5 separate regions of the Homo sapiens genome follow, and all the other regions are linked to region 1. Evidence: promoter capture Hi-C in 16 types of primary human blood cells and fetal thymus (Javierre and others, 2016). All regions are on one chromosome and are shown on one strand. Each heading gives the region's core, a stretch centred on a gene start or on the middle of the fragment in contact. The rest is flanking DNA. Distances are from core to core; before and after follow the strand shown. Region 1 holds the start of STAG1 (STAG1 cohesin complex component). Region 2 overlaps MSL2 (MSL complex subunit 2). Region 3 has its middle 10 kb from the start of MSL2. Region 4 has its middle 18 kb from the start of PCCB. Region 5 overlaps MSL2 (MSL complex subunit 2).

Evidence for each region. The method cuts DNA at HindIII sites, captures the fragments that hold promoters and counts their contacts. A CHiCAGO score of 5 or more calls a contact.
Region 2: a fragment that was not itself captured here is called in contact with the fragment with the promoter of STAG1 in region 1 in 13 of 17 cell types (fetal thymus, total CD8 T cells, non-activated CD4 T cells and 10 more); the score reaches 12.8 in fetal thymus.
Region 3: a fragment that was not itself captured here is called in contact with the fragment with the promoter of STAG1 in region 1 in 17 of 17 cell types (fetal thymus, non-activated CD4 T cells, total CD4 T cells and 14 more); the score reaches 20.9 in fetal thymus.
Region 4: a contact is called between a fragment that was not itself captured here and the fragment with the promoter of STAG1 in region 1, in 1 of 17 cell types (total CD4 T cells). The highest score is 5.0, in total CD4 T cells.
Region 5: a fragment that was not itself captured here is called in contact with the fragment with the promoter of STAG1 in region 1 in 17 of 17 cell types (fetal thymus, neutrophils, total B cells and 14 more); the score reaches 26.7 in fetal thymus.

What each region holds. Positions count from the first base shown.
Region 1 is chr3:136,750,930-136,753,629 of GRCh38, forward strand. STAG1 (STAG1 cohesin complex component) reads right to left here and starts at 1,449. Exons shown (of 34, transcript NM_005862.3): 1 at 1,266-1,449. STAG1-DT (STAG1 divergent transcript) reads left to right here and starts at 1,742. Exons shown (of 1, transcript NR_185911.1): 1 at 1,742-2,700. RefSeq lists silencers at 773-1,152, 1,473-1,702 and enhancers at 894-1,825, 1,713-2,032, 1,826-2,700. The HindIII fragment of the contact is 7,208 bases long and covers 1-2,700 here.
Region 2 is chr3:136,170,953-136,173,652 of GRCh38, forward strand. The region is part of intron 1 of MSL2 (MSL complex subunit 2); the gene reads right to left. Among named protein-coding and RNA genes, the nearest start is that of MSL2, 24 kb to the right of the region's middle. The HindIII fragment of the contact is 318 bases long and covers 1,206-1,523 here.
Region 3 is chr3:136,205,361-136,208,060 of GRCh38, forward strand. It overlaps the pseudogene RPL31P23. Among named protein-coding and RNA genes, the nearest start is that of MSL2, 10 kb to the left of the region's middle. The HindIII fragment of the contact is 2,366 bases long and covers 77-2,442 here.
Region 4 is chr3:136,230,770-136,233,469 of GRCh38, forward strand. No RefSeq gene overlaps it. Among named protein-coding and RNA genes, the nearest start is that of PCCB, 18 kb to the right of the region's middle. The HindIII fragment of the contact is 8,086 bases long and covers 1-2,700 here.
Region 5 is chr3:136,187,999-136,190,698 of GRCh38, forward strand. All of the region lies in intron 1 of MSL2 (MSL complex subunit 2), which reads right to left. Among named protein-coding and RNA genes, the nearest start is that of MSL2, 7.0 kb to the right of the region's middle. RefSeq lists enhancers at 1-486, 1,121-1,622. The HindIII fragment of the contact is 3,029 bases long and covers 1-2,700 here.

The DNA of each region.
Region 1 (2,700 bases), core at 199-2,698:
CCCTAAGTGCTTCACCATCGGAATGTGCAATTTTCTTAAAACACGAGGAAAACTAAAATGTAGAGTCATTCAAATTCCAGATAAGTTACAAATCACACAACTTTGTGCCAATTCAGATACTTTCTCAAGTAAACACTATTTTTGCGAAGATGCAAGTCTTTCTAGTCAGAATCACGAGAATAAACTCTATCCATCTTAACACCAACTTTAACAGCAAATAATTTTTTTTTATGACAAATTGCGTTTTTTTTTTTTGTTTTTTTTTTGTCTGTAAGTGTCCAAAACTATCCTATGACTTATACTCCCGGAGCACGATTCCCTGCAATGTGAAGAGAATCGACAGATAACATTTCAAATGTGGGTAGATGGGGGTGACGTGACAATCCTAAAACCTGAAAATTTCTTAGTACCCATACCATACAAGAAGAACCCAGTTCGGACCCTGCAAACGGGGCTCAGGTCCAACTCCAAGCACTCTAGTTTCCCACCCCGCCCCCACCTCGAGAAAGGAGGGAAAACAACTTTTATTGGCCTCGTCTCTCAGGGGACTGGCAAACTAGCGGGGCAGTGCTTAGGCCTGGACACGTTTCACAAGGAGGCCCCCGTCGGGGGCTGAGAGGGCAGATAGCTGGAAAGCCCAGCATTGATGCATCTCCCCCAGCCGCCACCCCGCTGCCCCACCCCGCCAACAAGAAGCCTGGGCCAGCCGCCCCGCCGAGCGACCCCCCAGGCCCCTCCGCTGAAATGAACTCGTTGTCATGTGACGCCGCCGCCGCTAAAACACCGCAGAAACGCAGGTCGGCAGGCGGCGGAAGGCATTCGCGCCAGCCCGCGTCGGCCCGGCCCCGCTGGGCGCGGGCGACTCCCGAGAGCCCGGGCGGGGGGGGGCGGAGGGCGGGCTTGGCGGCGGGCCCGAGCGCGCCACAAAGGCTTCCGCGCCTGTCGCCGTAGTGCCCGGGCGGGCGGGGGCAAAATTTTTGGTGCCCGCGGGAGGGGTGGCAAGCGACGAAGACGCCGGGGTGCCCACCGCGCCCACAGACGTCTCTCCGGGCACTCGGACGGCCCACGACCGCCGCACCCCGCACAGGCCCGCGCGGCCTCCCTCCCCCGCACGGGGCCCGCGCCCGGCCCGCCCGCTCGCCGCTCGCGCTCTCTCGCTCTCGCCCGGCCTCCATCTTGGATCGGCGCTTCCAGCCCCCGCGCCGCTGCCGCCGCATTCCCCCTCTTTCCCGCCCCCCGCCGCCGTCGCCGCCGCCCGCACTCACCTCAGCTGCCCATCCGGGCGCCGCCGACCATCGACCTAGTTTCCCCCCAAAAGTCTCCGGTGTGTTATTCCCGATGTGGGGGGGTTGTTACGGGGTGGTCGCCGGGGGTTCGGGAGCGGGGGCCGCGCCTTCAACGGAGCTGCAATCCTAACCCGCCATCTGGTGGCATTTTCCACACGCCAATGGCGCCGCTGCAGACTTGGGTCCGGACCGCCCTCTGCTGGCCGCGGTGCTCACTGCCTTGCTGACGGGACGGGCCTGCCCGGAAAGGGGAGGGAGCTGAGGCGCGAGCTAGGGGCCGCGGCAGGGGCGCGCGCAAACGCTTTCCAGTGGGGATTGCGCGCACGCGCACCAGCGGGGCGGGAAACGTGGCCGCTGCGTGGCGGCCCCGCCCCCACACGGAGCGCTCGCGCAGTTCAGCCAATCGCGAGAGGCGTAGGCTTCTGGATAAGGGCGCTGTGGACGGTTCTTGGGCCGCCCGCGGCTGGCGGAAGGACGGCCACGGTGGCGCCTGCGCGTCCGGCTCGCCGAGTTGCCGCCCGCCATTTTTGGAGCTTCTTGGAGATCTAGGCAGGAACCCGCCCCGGGTTCCTTCACCGAGGCTCCTCCCTAGGTCTCAGGGCCGGCGCTTTCCTCTGTTCCCGCCCGGCTCCTGCTGCCCCCATCCGCAGCTCTCGAGACGCCCTGCGGAAACCCGAGGGTGAGGCCGCGCAGATCCCTGCTCCTACTTGGATTTAGCAAGGGCCTCAGAGCTTAGCATTGTATTCGCGATTTACGGCTGACAAGCGCTTTCACCAGGCAAGAGTGAAAAGGTTTCAAAAGGACTATTGGGGACTTCCCTCGCCATTAATCTAGACGAAACACCGCCGGCCCTAGGCCGATTGGCGTCATCCTGCCTCTGTAAAGCACATCTTTCCGTGGTGTCGGCTTTGCATAAGGCGGCAGCATTGGCTAGTTTGTGAGAGGAGAATATAACTAGACTGAGAAGATAGACTCAGCTGTGAAAGTGGATTTCTCCCTCCACAACCTAGGACTACTTTCAGTAGCTCTGAAATACACATGAGAATCTTAGCCTTCTAGATGCCAAAAGAGAAATAATCAGTAAGGTGAAATCATTAACAAACTATTTATGTTTAACGTCGCCTCTTCCCTGATCTCCACCTGCCCGTCCGTGGCCATGGATCCCTACCTTTCACCTGCTTACAACTTTTCACCACAAAAGTGAATCCTTACTCTCCTGGATCATTAGCCCCATATATGACTAACTTCTCTATCGCTATAGCCAACTCTATTTCAGTATGGAATCGCTCAACTACTTTATAGTCTTAAGGGCCTGTCTCCAGTAGGTTACCCCTATTTGTGTTTTCTCTCTCAAGGGTTTGCAAGATGTGTGGCTTTTCGCTGGAGGAAGTCATAACTGACCAGATTGGATATG
Region 2 (2,700 bases), core at 115-2,614, 580 kb before region 1:
TATGCCAAGATTTGTTCAATATGTTTGAGAAAGTATTCTACTTTCTGTTCCATCCCGAAACATGTCCTAATGATGAATGTTTTCTGTATGTTTGGCATTGTAAAAGTAATCATTTTCTTTCATTATATTATTACTCAACATTTACCTGGGTATGTCTCACAAACATGAGAAAATGAGACATGTTAAATCTTTAAAAATTTAGCAAGTCATTGCTGTTTCAAATCAAAAGGAAGTGTAAAGTTAGTCACTGTTACAAGTCAGATTCCTAGGCATGCAAACTCTTAGGACAGGTTAGTGTGCAGAAAACTTATGAAGAGCTTCTCTCAGGATTATCATTTGTAAAGGAAGGAAGGAAGTGGCTGGGATGAACTCACAAAAAAGGCCTCAGATGACCCAAAAGAAACTCTAAAGCTGAATGACTCCTTAGGGTTGTCCTATGCTGGGCCCAAGGAGCCAGGTACTTTAATGAACCAGAACCTGGAGGCACACTACTCACAACGAAAGCATGTGACCATGAATGAGTTGCTCTCTTCAGCCAAGGATGATTCCCAGACAGGTCTCACAGCCTCAGCAGCACACCCACTAGCTAAAAGAATGAATTTCTTTAAGCCTTAAGTGGGGATTTGGGTATTACATCATGGCATCCACTACAATCAGTAATTCTGTAACTGTCCAAGTCTGACAAATTTTGAGTAAAACAATGTCATATATATTAATAGTGTGCTCCTAAGTGATTTGGCCCTCAGTTTCTTAAAGCTATTAACTAAATATCTAGGTTCTTTTCACAGCTGTAAAATTTGATGATTCCAAGACGTATGGCCAGGTCTATAAAGGGTGTATCAAAAGCCTTGCATTTGGGTATAATTAATTTTCACTAGGTATCATGTTGAGGTAACAGGTATGTATGTGAGAGTTTTATTCTACTTTGTATGTTGAAACTTTTTCTTTTTTTTGGAGACAGGGTCCCACTCTGTTGCCCAGTCGCTTAGGATGAAGTGCAGTGTCATGGCTCATCGTAGCCTCAACCTCCTGGGGCTCAAGCAATCCTCCTAACTCAGCCTTCTGCGTAGGTGGGACCACAACTCCTGGCTCAAGCGATCCACCCACCTTGGCCTCCCAAAGGGCTGGGATTACAGGCGTGAGCCACCGCACCTGGCCTGTATATTGAAATTTTCTATAAACGTGACAAAATAAAGTCCAATGAAAGCTTGAATATTTCTACTTATGTCAATTTTTTCATGCTTCCAAATTTACCAGAAGGTTTACATATTTAAGTATTCTCCCTCTCTCCACCTCTCATCATACTCATACTCACTCCCCGACAACACATACACACATACAGTACCCTTTTCTTCTTCCCTCCTACGTAAATCCTCCTCTCCCTCCAATGCTTTGGCTCACATACCTCCCATACTCCCCCCACCCAGTTACCTATACCTAATGTTATTTATACCCTCTCTCTCACTTCCACCTTCAACCTTCCTTCCTATAGCAACTCCCCATCCAGTTATTCCCTATGCAGAAGCTTCTCACCAGAATGTGTCTTCTAATGAAAGGCAAAAATTGCTAATCCCAAATGTAGTGGGCACTTCTGGTTCATTATTCTTCCCTTGAAATGCTCTCCTCCTTTCTCCCCTAACACTGTCTCCGTCATCTCCTCTACATCCTCTTCTGTCCCCTCATTAATTTTAGTATTTCCCATGTTTCCTTAATAGGATCTACTCTCCTTACTCCCTTTCAGTAATCCTTAGTAATCCTTACTGACACAGACCCCTTTGAGAATCTGACTATACAAATGTGTACGTCTTCAGTTCAAGAGCTAATAAAAAAAAAAGTACAAATTGTTGTTCAGAATCTTATGAGGATCATTAATCTTTTCCCCTTTTGAAACAGACATGACACCATACAAACTTTAAAACTGACCTACGGGGCCGGGCACAGTGGCTCACACCTGTAATCCCAGTACTTTGGGAGGCCAAGGCAAGAGGATCACTTGAGGTCAGGAGTTCAAGACCTGACTGTCCAACATGGCGAAACCCTACCTCTACTAAAAATACAAAACCAGCCAGGCATGGTGGTGTGCGCCTGTAATCCCAGCTACTTGGGAGGCTGAGGCACAAAAATCGCTTGAACCCAGAAAGCAGAGGTTGCAGTGAGCTGAGATCACGCCACTGCACTCCAGCCTGGGCGACAGAGCAAGACTTTGTCTCAAAATAAACAAACAAACAAACAAAAGAAGGTGGAACATACTTCTTTCTAGAGTGATTGCCCATAAAGCTGTTTTAACTACTGTTCATAAACTGGTGACTTCTGAATCTGTATCTCCAACTCAAATCTTTCTCCCCTGAACTTCAGACCCAATATCGAAGTGCCTACTAGGAATCTCATCTCTCTTTTGCCAACCCACAGGTAATTCAAGCTTAACATGAGCAAATATAAATTTTATCTCCCATAAATCCCCACCTAAAAGCCTGGTCTTCCTCCTGCATCCCTTATTCTCTTGGTACTGACACTATCATTCATTCACAAACTAAATACCTTGAAACCACCCAGACTCTTCACCTCCATTCCATATCCAATTGTTCTCCCTGCATGTAGTTTATAAAAATCTGCCAATTCCACCCCTTCAGGTTTTATTTGCATGACTACTACTGCCTTAGTTCAACCTTCATCATTGTTCACCCCGAATTTCGAGTTTTC
Region 3 (2,700 bases), core at 10-2,509, 550 kb before region 1:
TATTATTTTTTTCTGGATAGTGGGATTGTGGAAAATACTTGTTTTTCTTATTGTCTGTATACCCATTTTGAATTAAAGCTTCCCTCTTCTATTCTCCAATATTGCCAAGTGCTTACCTCTTTCTTTTCTTTTTTGAAGGCAGTTTTATAATTTTATTCGATGTATTTGACGATCAGCGATTAGTTCTCATCCACGTTGAGTCTACAGATTTTTGAAGGTGGTAACAGGTATATAGGTAACCAAAGTATAGAAATTATTTGGTGAATCTTCATCCTCATTACGTTTTCTGGACAACAGCACACAGATTCAGTATGGAACATTCCTTGTTCCTTTGGCCCAGACAGCTTTGTTGAGCCTGGTATCAATGTGCACATCTGGAGTTCCCATCTCCTTCATGGCACATTTCCGAATCTCTTTGAGTGCCCTAGGGGCACACTTCTGGAAGCCCGCTCCATAGATGTGGTTGTGAATGTTGATGGTGTATGCTCGGGTCACTACCTCGTTGATAGCAGAACGGCCTTTTTTCTTCTCGCCACCCTTCTTTGTGGAAGCCATTCTGCCAGGTCCAAGTTGATAAAAAGCGTGTTTACCTCTTTTGTTGCACTACCACACTATGCTGCAGTTGTTGGTTTAGCCCTGTTTCCTCCCCATTATATTTCTATAACTCTTAGGAGGTCAGTTTTCTCCCTCTTTGCCTCTTATCCTCATTGCTTAGCATAAGGTCTGACATATAATAGGAATTCAATAATTGTTAAAATAATGATTAATGTGACAATATAAGTAAATTCACTAGTATAGTGTGTAGTACCTAATAGGCATGGAAAATTGTTTGCTTTTTCCTTGGGGAGAGATATAAAATGCCTTACAAATTTGAAGCCAGTTCTTGTTTCAGCTTGATCAAATCAATGTTAATTATAAGGTCCTTAATAAAACCAAAAGTGTGAATTGATTTGAAACACTCAGAATATCAATCATCAAGTATTTATTGTATGCACTCTAGCACTTTGGAGACAATGAAGTAAATACAGAAATAGTTGTAGTTATGTTTTCAAAGAACAAAGATCAGGCAAGCAGTCAGAGAGACTTTCTGACGGGTTAGATTGTTTACAAAATAGCTAATTTTTGTCTTCCTTTCCCTTCCTCTTTCACCCTCCTTCCTCTGTCCCCTCCTTTATCTTCCTCCACCAAAAACTCTCTGTAGAGATGATGTTCCCTCTCCCACTTTCTCAAGTTGCATTCTCCCTCATTGCTTATTATTTCTATCCCATCGTTTTCACCATTATACACATCCCTACCAGATTTTAACAAATGCCTGGCCGGGCACCATGGCTTATGCCTGTAATCCTAGCACTTTGGGAGGCCAAGGTGGGTGGATCACCTGAGCTCAGGAGTTCGAGACCAGTCTGGGCAACATGGCAAAACCCCGTCTCCACCAAAAATACAAAAAAATTAGCTGGGTGTGCTGGTGCACACCTGTGGTCCCAGCTACCTAGGAGGCTGAGGTGGGATGATTGCTTGAGCCTGGGAGGAGGAGGTTGCAGTGAGCTGAGATGTCACCACTATACGCCAACCCAGGTGACAGAGTGAGACCCTGTCTCAAAAACAAAAGCCACAAATGCTTAATCTACTGTCATTGTGGAAACCAATAAATCTAATTAAACACAATCTATGGGAAAGTAAAAATAGCATAATCTAAACTCATGAAAAATCTTCAGAGATTGGCCAGGGTAGTACTTCTTTATAGGGAGCAGTAAACCAGATGAAATTAAACTAGGCTGTAATTCAGACTGATACTTCTGTTCTTTCCTGATCATTCCTTTCTGACCATTACCAAACTTCCTCTTCCATCCTCTGCTCTTAGCTGTGGTCATAGCTCTCCCCTCCTCAGTCCTAGAGCTCCCAAGAACCACCTCCCTTCCCCCTCCAAGCAATTCCTGCTGATATTTTTTCCATAACATTTTCCAAATCAATGTATCTCTCCATTGATTTAATCCAAAAACATGTATTTAGCAAGTCAAGCACTCATTTATTTTACACCTCAAATATTAAATTTTTTTTTTATCTTCTTCATCTCTAACTCCAGCCTTAACAAAGCAGCTTGCTTTATTGGTCATCTACCTAAGACAGTGCCAAACGCATTAAGGGATCCACTAAATGTTACTGTTTTTATTCCCCAAGACACTTTCAACAGTATTCAAATGCCTATTAAATTTGTCCATTCATTTATGCAACCAACGTTTATTGCCAGTTATATGCCAGGCATTCAGAATACAAAAATGAATAATTCAACAGTTTCTAGCCCTCAAAGAGTTCACAGTCTAGTTGGGGTGGCAGCTATGTACACGGCTAATTTATAATTCAGAGTAGTAAGGATTTAGGGATCTACTTGACGCAAATCTAAAATGTCTTAGCAGATATGGCTGTTACATTATGAGTTAAACAAGCTTGTGTGGACTTTCCTGAGAAAAATAACTGCAATTATTCATGGCATTGTTTCTAAGGGAAAATGTGTTCTGCATTCCAAACAGTCAATTTAAAATTGAATTTTTGGAATACAGCCCATTTTCCCCTGGGGGCTATTTCTCCATTATCTAAGAATCCCTCTCTGTCTTAGGACAGTTTTCATACACAACTCCCACCTGTTCTACATAGCATATGGTACTACCTGCAGGTTGCATAGTTTCATGGTCATCACCTTCC
Region 4 (2,700 bases), core at 93-2,592, 520 kb before region 1:
CAAAAAACAAAAAACAAAAAACAGTACAGTGAATACTGTTGCACTTAAACTTTGATGATGTCCGTGGGAGGAAATAAACTACTGTTTTATTTAGACCACTGTATTTACGTATTTTTATTATTTTTTTTTTGAGACAGAGTCTTTTTCTGTCACCCAGGCTGGAGAGCAGTGGTGTGATCTTGCCTCACTCCAACCTCTGCCACCTGGGTTCAAGTGATTCTTGTGCCTCAGCCTCCCAAGTAGCTGGGATTACAGGTGTGTGCCACCATGCCCAGCTAATTTTTGTATTTTTAGTAGATATGGTGTTTTGCCATGTTGGTCAGACTGGTCTTGAACTCCTGGCCTCAAGTGATCTGCCTGCCTTTGCCTCCCAAAATGCTGGGATTACAGGTGTGAGCCATCATGCCTGGCCAGGCCATTGTATTTAGCAGTTCTTTTATACAGCAACTTAGTTTTTTTCCTAATATACCTTCTTCACTTCAGACCTACAGTAGGCTTTTTGTTTTGTTTTGTTTTTTCCCTAGACTAAATGCTGCAGTAGACTTTTAAAGCAGATCTCCTAATATATCTACCAGACCTTTAATTCATCTTACTCAGTATTGACTTGTTAAACTAAGAATCACTTTGCACAGACTTCACCACTATCCTCTGCTCAAGAGCTACAGTTCATTCATTCATTCATGCAGTAGTTATTTCAGCTACCATGGTAAGTATGTTTCAGTCACTGCCCTAAGTGCTAGAAGCTAGAGATGCAACGTGACACAAGAAAAATGAAGATAATACTTATCTTGGAGTCCTTGCCATCATGTACCTTACAGTCTAACTGAAGAGAATGACAAGATTGACCATCAAATATTCACACAAATAAATATAAAATTACAATTTTGATAACTGTTACTAATAAAAGGAGCATGGTGCTAGGACACATAGAAAGGTTTGATTTAGTTGAAGAAATCAGGGACGGCTTCTCTATGAAAGTGTAAGGCTGAGATATGAAGGATGAGTAGACATTTTGAAGAGCAGACATTACTGAGAGATGAACCTTCCACCCAATGAAGGCAAAGACCCTGCAGAAGTAGAGAACGTGCATTTCAGGAGTTGACAGGAGACAGAAGACCAGTGTGGCTGGAGCAGAGAGACTGAGGGATAATACTGGATGAATTATAGATATAGGTAGGGTCTAGGCCATGTAGGCTCTTATAGGCTATGTTAAGAATCTTAGCTGGGCGTGGTGGCTCAGGCCTATAATCCCAGCACTTTGGGAGGCTGAGGTGGGTGGATTACCTGAAGTCAGGAGTTTGAGACCTGCATGACCAATATAGTGAAACCCCATCTCTACTAAAAATACAAAGATTAGCCGGACATGGTGGCTTGCACCTGTAGTCCCAGCTACTCACAAGGCTGAGATGGGAGGATTGCTTGAACCCGGGTGGTGGAGGTTGCAGTGAGCTGAGATTGCGCCGCTGCAGTCCAGCCTGAGAGACAGAGCGAGACTCCATCTCAAAAAAAAAAAATCTTTGTCATTGTCATATGAACATTGAGAAGTCACTGAAGAGTTTCTATTTGAAAATCAGAGAAATTAGCTGGGCATGGTGTTGCACGCCTGTGGTCCTAGCTACTCCAGAGGTTGAGGCAGGAAGATCCCTTAAACCCAGTAGGTCGAGACTGCAGTGAGCCATGTTCATGCCACTGTACTCCAGCCTGGGGGACAGAGGGAGAAGTTGTCTCAAGGAAAGTTTTAAAAAGGGATTTAGGTTTGTGAGTGACATAATCATGAAATATTTGCCTGGATGGATTAATTAGTTCATTATTTATTTTTGTTCTTCTTTGTTTATATTCTCCCCTGGGCAGGTCATCCACTTTCAAGTCATGAGGAACTGAACAAAGGAGACTAAGAATGAGTAGCCAAAGACATAGGAGGAAAAGCTGGAGTGTGAAAAGTTGGAGTGTGTTATGTCAAAAAAGCCAAAATAATGTTTTATGAAGGAGGAACTGAAAAAGAAGCCAGGCGTGGGGGCTCACATCTATAATCCCAGCACTTTGGGAGGCCAAGGTGGCAGGATTGCTTGAGCCCATAAGTTTGAGACTAGCCTGGGCAACATGGCGAGACCCTGTCTCTACCAAAAAAAAAAAAAAAAAAAAAAAACAATTAGCGGGCATGGTGGCACAAACCTGTGGTCCCAGATACTTGGGAGGCTGAAGTGGGAGGATCACTTGAGCCTGGGAGGTCGAGGCTGCAGTAGGCCATGATCATGCCACTACACTCCAGCCTGGGCAACACAGCAAGACCCTGTCTCTAAAAATAAAAATAAAAATAGAAAAGGAAAGAGTAGTCAATAGTATTCAATGCCACTGAGAGATTAGGTAAAATGTAGACTTGATATGTCCATGGCTTCCCAATGCCTACAGGATAGAGTCTAAATTTCTCATACTGGCATTCAAGTCCCACAACAATTCTATCTTTACCTACTTTTCTAACATTTTTTCCCATATCACCTCTAAAGTAAGCCCTTTAATAAGGTGCCCTTCAGATAAGGTGCCCTGTTTATTTTACCTAGAACACATATTACACTCTGCCTACATATCATCATTGGATATATTTTCTGTCCATCACCACTTGTCTAAATTCTACTGATTTTCTAGGTCCTGTCCCTCTTTCACTTCCTCCATGCCTCATCCATGAAGATTTCTGTGGTGGCC
Region 5 (2,700 bases), core at 163-2,662, 560 kb before region 1:
GGGATCAAAACTCTCCACACAAAAGGCCCCTGAATAACCACTATAGGGCAAGGGCTCTCCTACAAGAGCTCTTCATTCCAGGTAAACCCAATTTACTGCTGTTTACACAAGCCAAAGGTTTTCTCCTTCAGGCCTTACTTAAAAATGTCCACTAGGCCAGGCGCAGTGGCTCACACCTGTAATCCCACCACTTTGGGAGGCCAAGCTGGGGGAGTTCACAAGGTACAGAGATCGAGACCATCCTGGCCAACATGGTGAAACTCCGTGTCTACTAAAAATACACTAATTAGCTAGGCGTGGTGGGGCATGCCTATAGTCCCAGTTACTCAGGAGACTGAGGCAGGAGAATCGCTTGAACCCATGAAGCAGAGGTTGCAGTGAGCCGAGATCGCACCACTGCAGTCCAGCCTGACAACAGAGCAAGACTCCATCTGGAAGAAGAAAAAAAAAAAAAAAAAGTCCACTAACAGGCTGGGTTCAGTGGCTCATGCCTATAATCCTAGCATTTTGGGAGGCCAAAGTGGAAGGACTGCCTCAGGCCAGGAATTCAAGACCAGCCTGGACAATACAGCAAAACCCCATCTCTACAAAATATCTGAAATTTAGCAGGGCATTGATGGCGTATGCCTGTAGTGTCAGCTACTCAGGACGATGAGGTGGGAGGACTGCTGGAGCCCACATCGAGCCACTGCACTCCAGCCTGGGGAAGAGAGCAAGACCCTGTCTCAAAAAAAAAAAAAAAAAAAAAGTATCCACTACACCACTTCTCTTGGCCCAGCTCAAGCCCCACACCTACCAGATCTTACCAGACTGAAACAGTCTCATCTGCCTAATTCTACAGTACCATACTGCCTGCCTTGAACCCACATTTAAACTATTATTACCTTTTCAACTTATCATAAGATGAAGGGCTGCAAATCAAACCTCTTTTCATCTCAGCACTGGTAACAATGCATTTAGGGAGTCCTTTCCCTAAAGCAGTATCATCTTGCATAAATATACCCAAGTAGAAGCAAATATTTTAGAACTTTTATAGATTTTTCTTAGGAGATTTTCCTTAGGAAAAGAGATCATACAAGCCTGGGCAACATGGTGAAACCCTGTCTCTACAAAAAAAAAAAAAAAAAAAAAAAAAAAACACACACACAAAAATAAGGCGAGCATGGTACCGCACGCCTACAGTCCCAACTAATTGAAAGGCTGAGGTGGGAGGACAGCTTAAGCCCAAGAGGTTGAGCTGCACTGAGCCGTGATCATGCCACCACATTCCAGCCTAGGCAACAGAACAAGACCCTGTCTCGAGAAAATTAAAAAAAAAAAAAAAAGTTAAGAAAATAGATCTGCTATCTATAGCTGAATTGTATCTACCAAGAAAATTACTAACTAAACACAGTTCTTCCTACCTGCATACTAGATAAATGTGCTCTAAAGAATTCTTCCCAGAGGCTGGGCGCAGTGGCTCACACCTGTAATCTCAGCACTTTGGGAGGCGGAGTCGGGCGGATCACGAGGTCAGGAGATCGAGACCATCCTGGCTAACACAGTGAAACCCCTTGTCTACTAAAAACACAAAAAATTAGCCGGGCGAGGTGGCGGGTGCCTGCAGTCCCAGCTACTCAGGAGGCTGAGGCAGGAGAATGGCGTGTACCCGGGAGGTGGAGCTTGCAGTGAGCCAAGATGGCGCCACTGCACTCCAGCCTGGGCGACAGCGAGACGCCGTCTCAAAAAAAAAAAAAAAAAAGAATTCTTCCCAGATCAGAAAACAGGTAAACTAAGAAAAAACTGTTAAAATAGACCCTGTTTTAACACCAATGTTTAACCTCTGACCAAAGAGCTATTCAAAAACAAACTCTACACAAATAAATGCGCTTTCATGGTTAATTTCTGAAACTTTACATGTACAAAATGTTAATTGGTAAGTTTTCTACAAATATTAACCAGGCGCGGGGGTGCACTTTCGTAGTTCCTGCTACTTGGGAGGCTGAGGTGGGAGGATCACCTGGACCCGGGAGACAAAGGTTGCAGTAAGCCGAGATCATGCCACTGCACTCCAGCCTGGGCAACATAGCAAGACCCTGTCTCAAAAATAAAAAATTACTAATTTTTCTATCGTGACACATGAGGTCTGTTATAGCTTAAGTGCCTCTACTCAGCACTTGGCCAATAATTGTTGGTTTACTTGTCTTCCCAGTAACACTGACCAATATATATGGGCCTGTGCCATGTGTCTTATTCATCTTTCTATCTTAGCATCTAGAACATCACAGGTGACCAATAAAGAAATAGTACAGCTACCGGGGCTCACACCTGTAATCCCAGCATTTTGGGAGACCCAGGCCAGATGAGTTCAAGACCAATCTAGACAACACAGCAAGGCCACATCTCTACAAAAAAAATTTTTAAATTAGCCAACCACGTGTGGTGGCGCACACCTGTAGTGTTAGCTACTCTAGAGGCTAATGCCAGAGGACTGGAGTTGGAGGCTGCAGTGAACTATGACTGCACCACTGCACTCCAGCCTGGGTGACAAAACAAGATTGTCTCAAAAAAAAAAAAAAAGGAAAATATTCATGTTCCCGAGTTTGACCATGATACTTTCCAAGTTATCTCCAAGAATAGTATTTTTCCATTTAACATGACCCTCCAATCCTAACAGGATTTTTGATTGTATACATCAGACTTGTTACATCATTTGAAGAG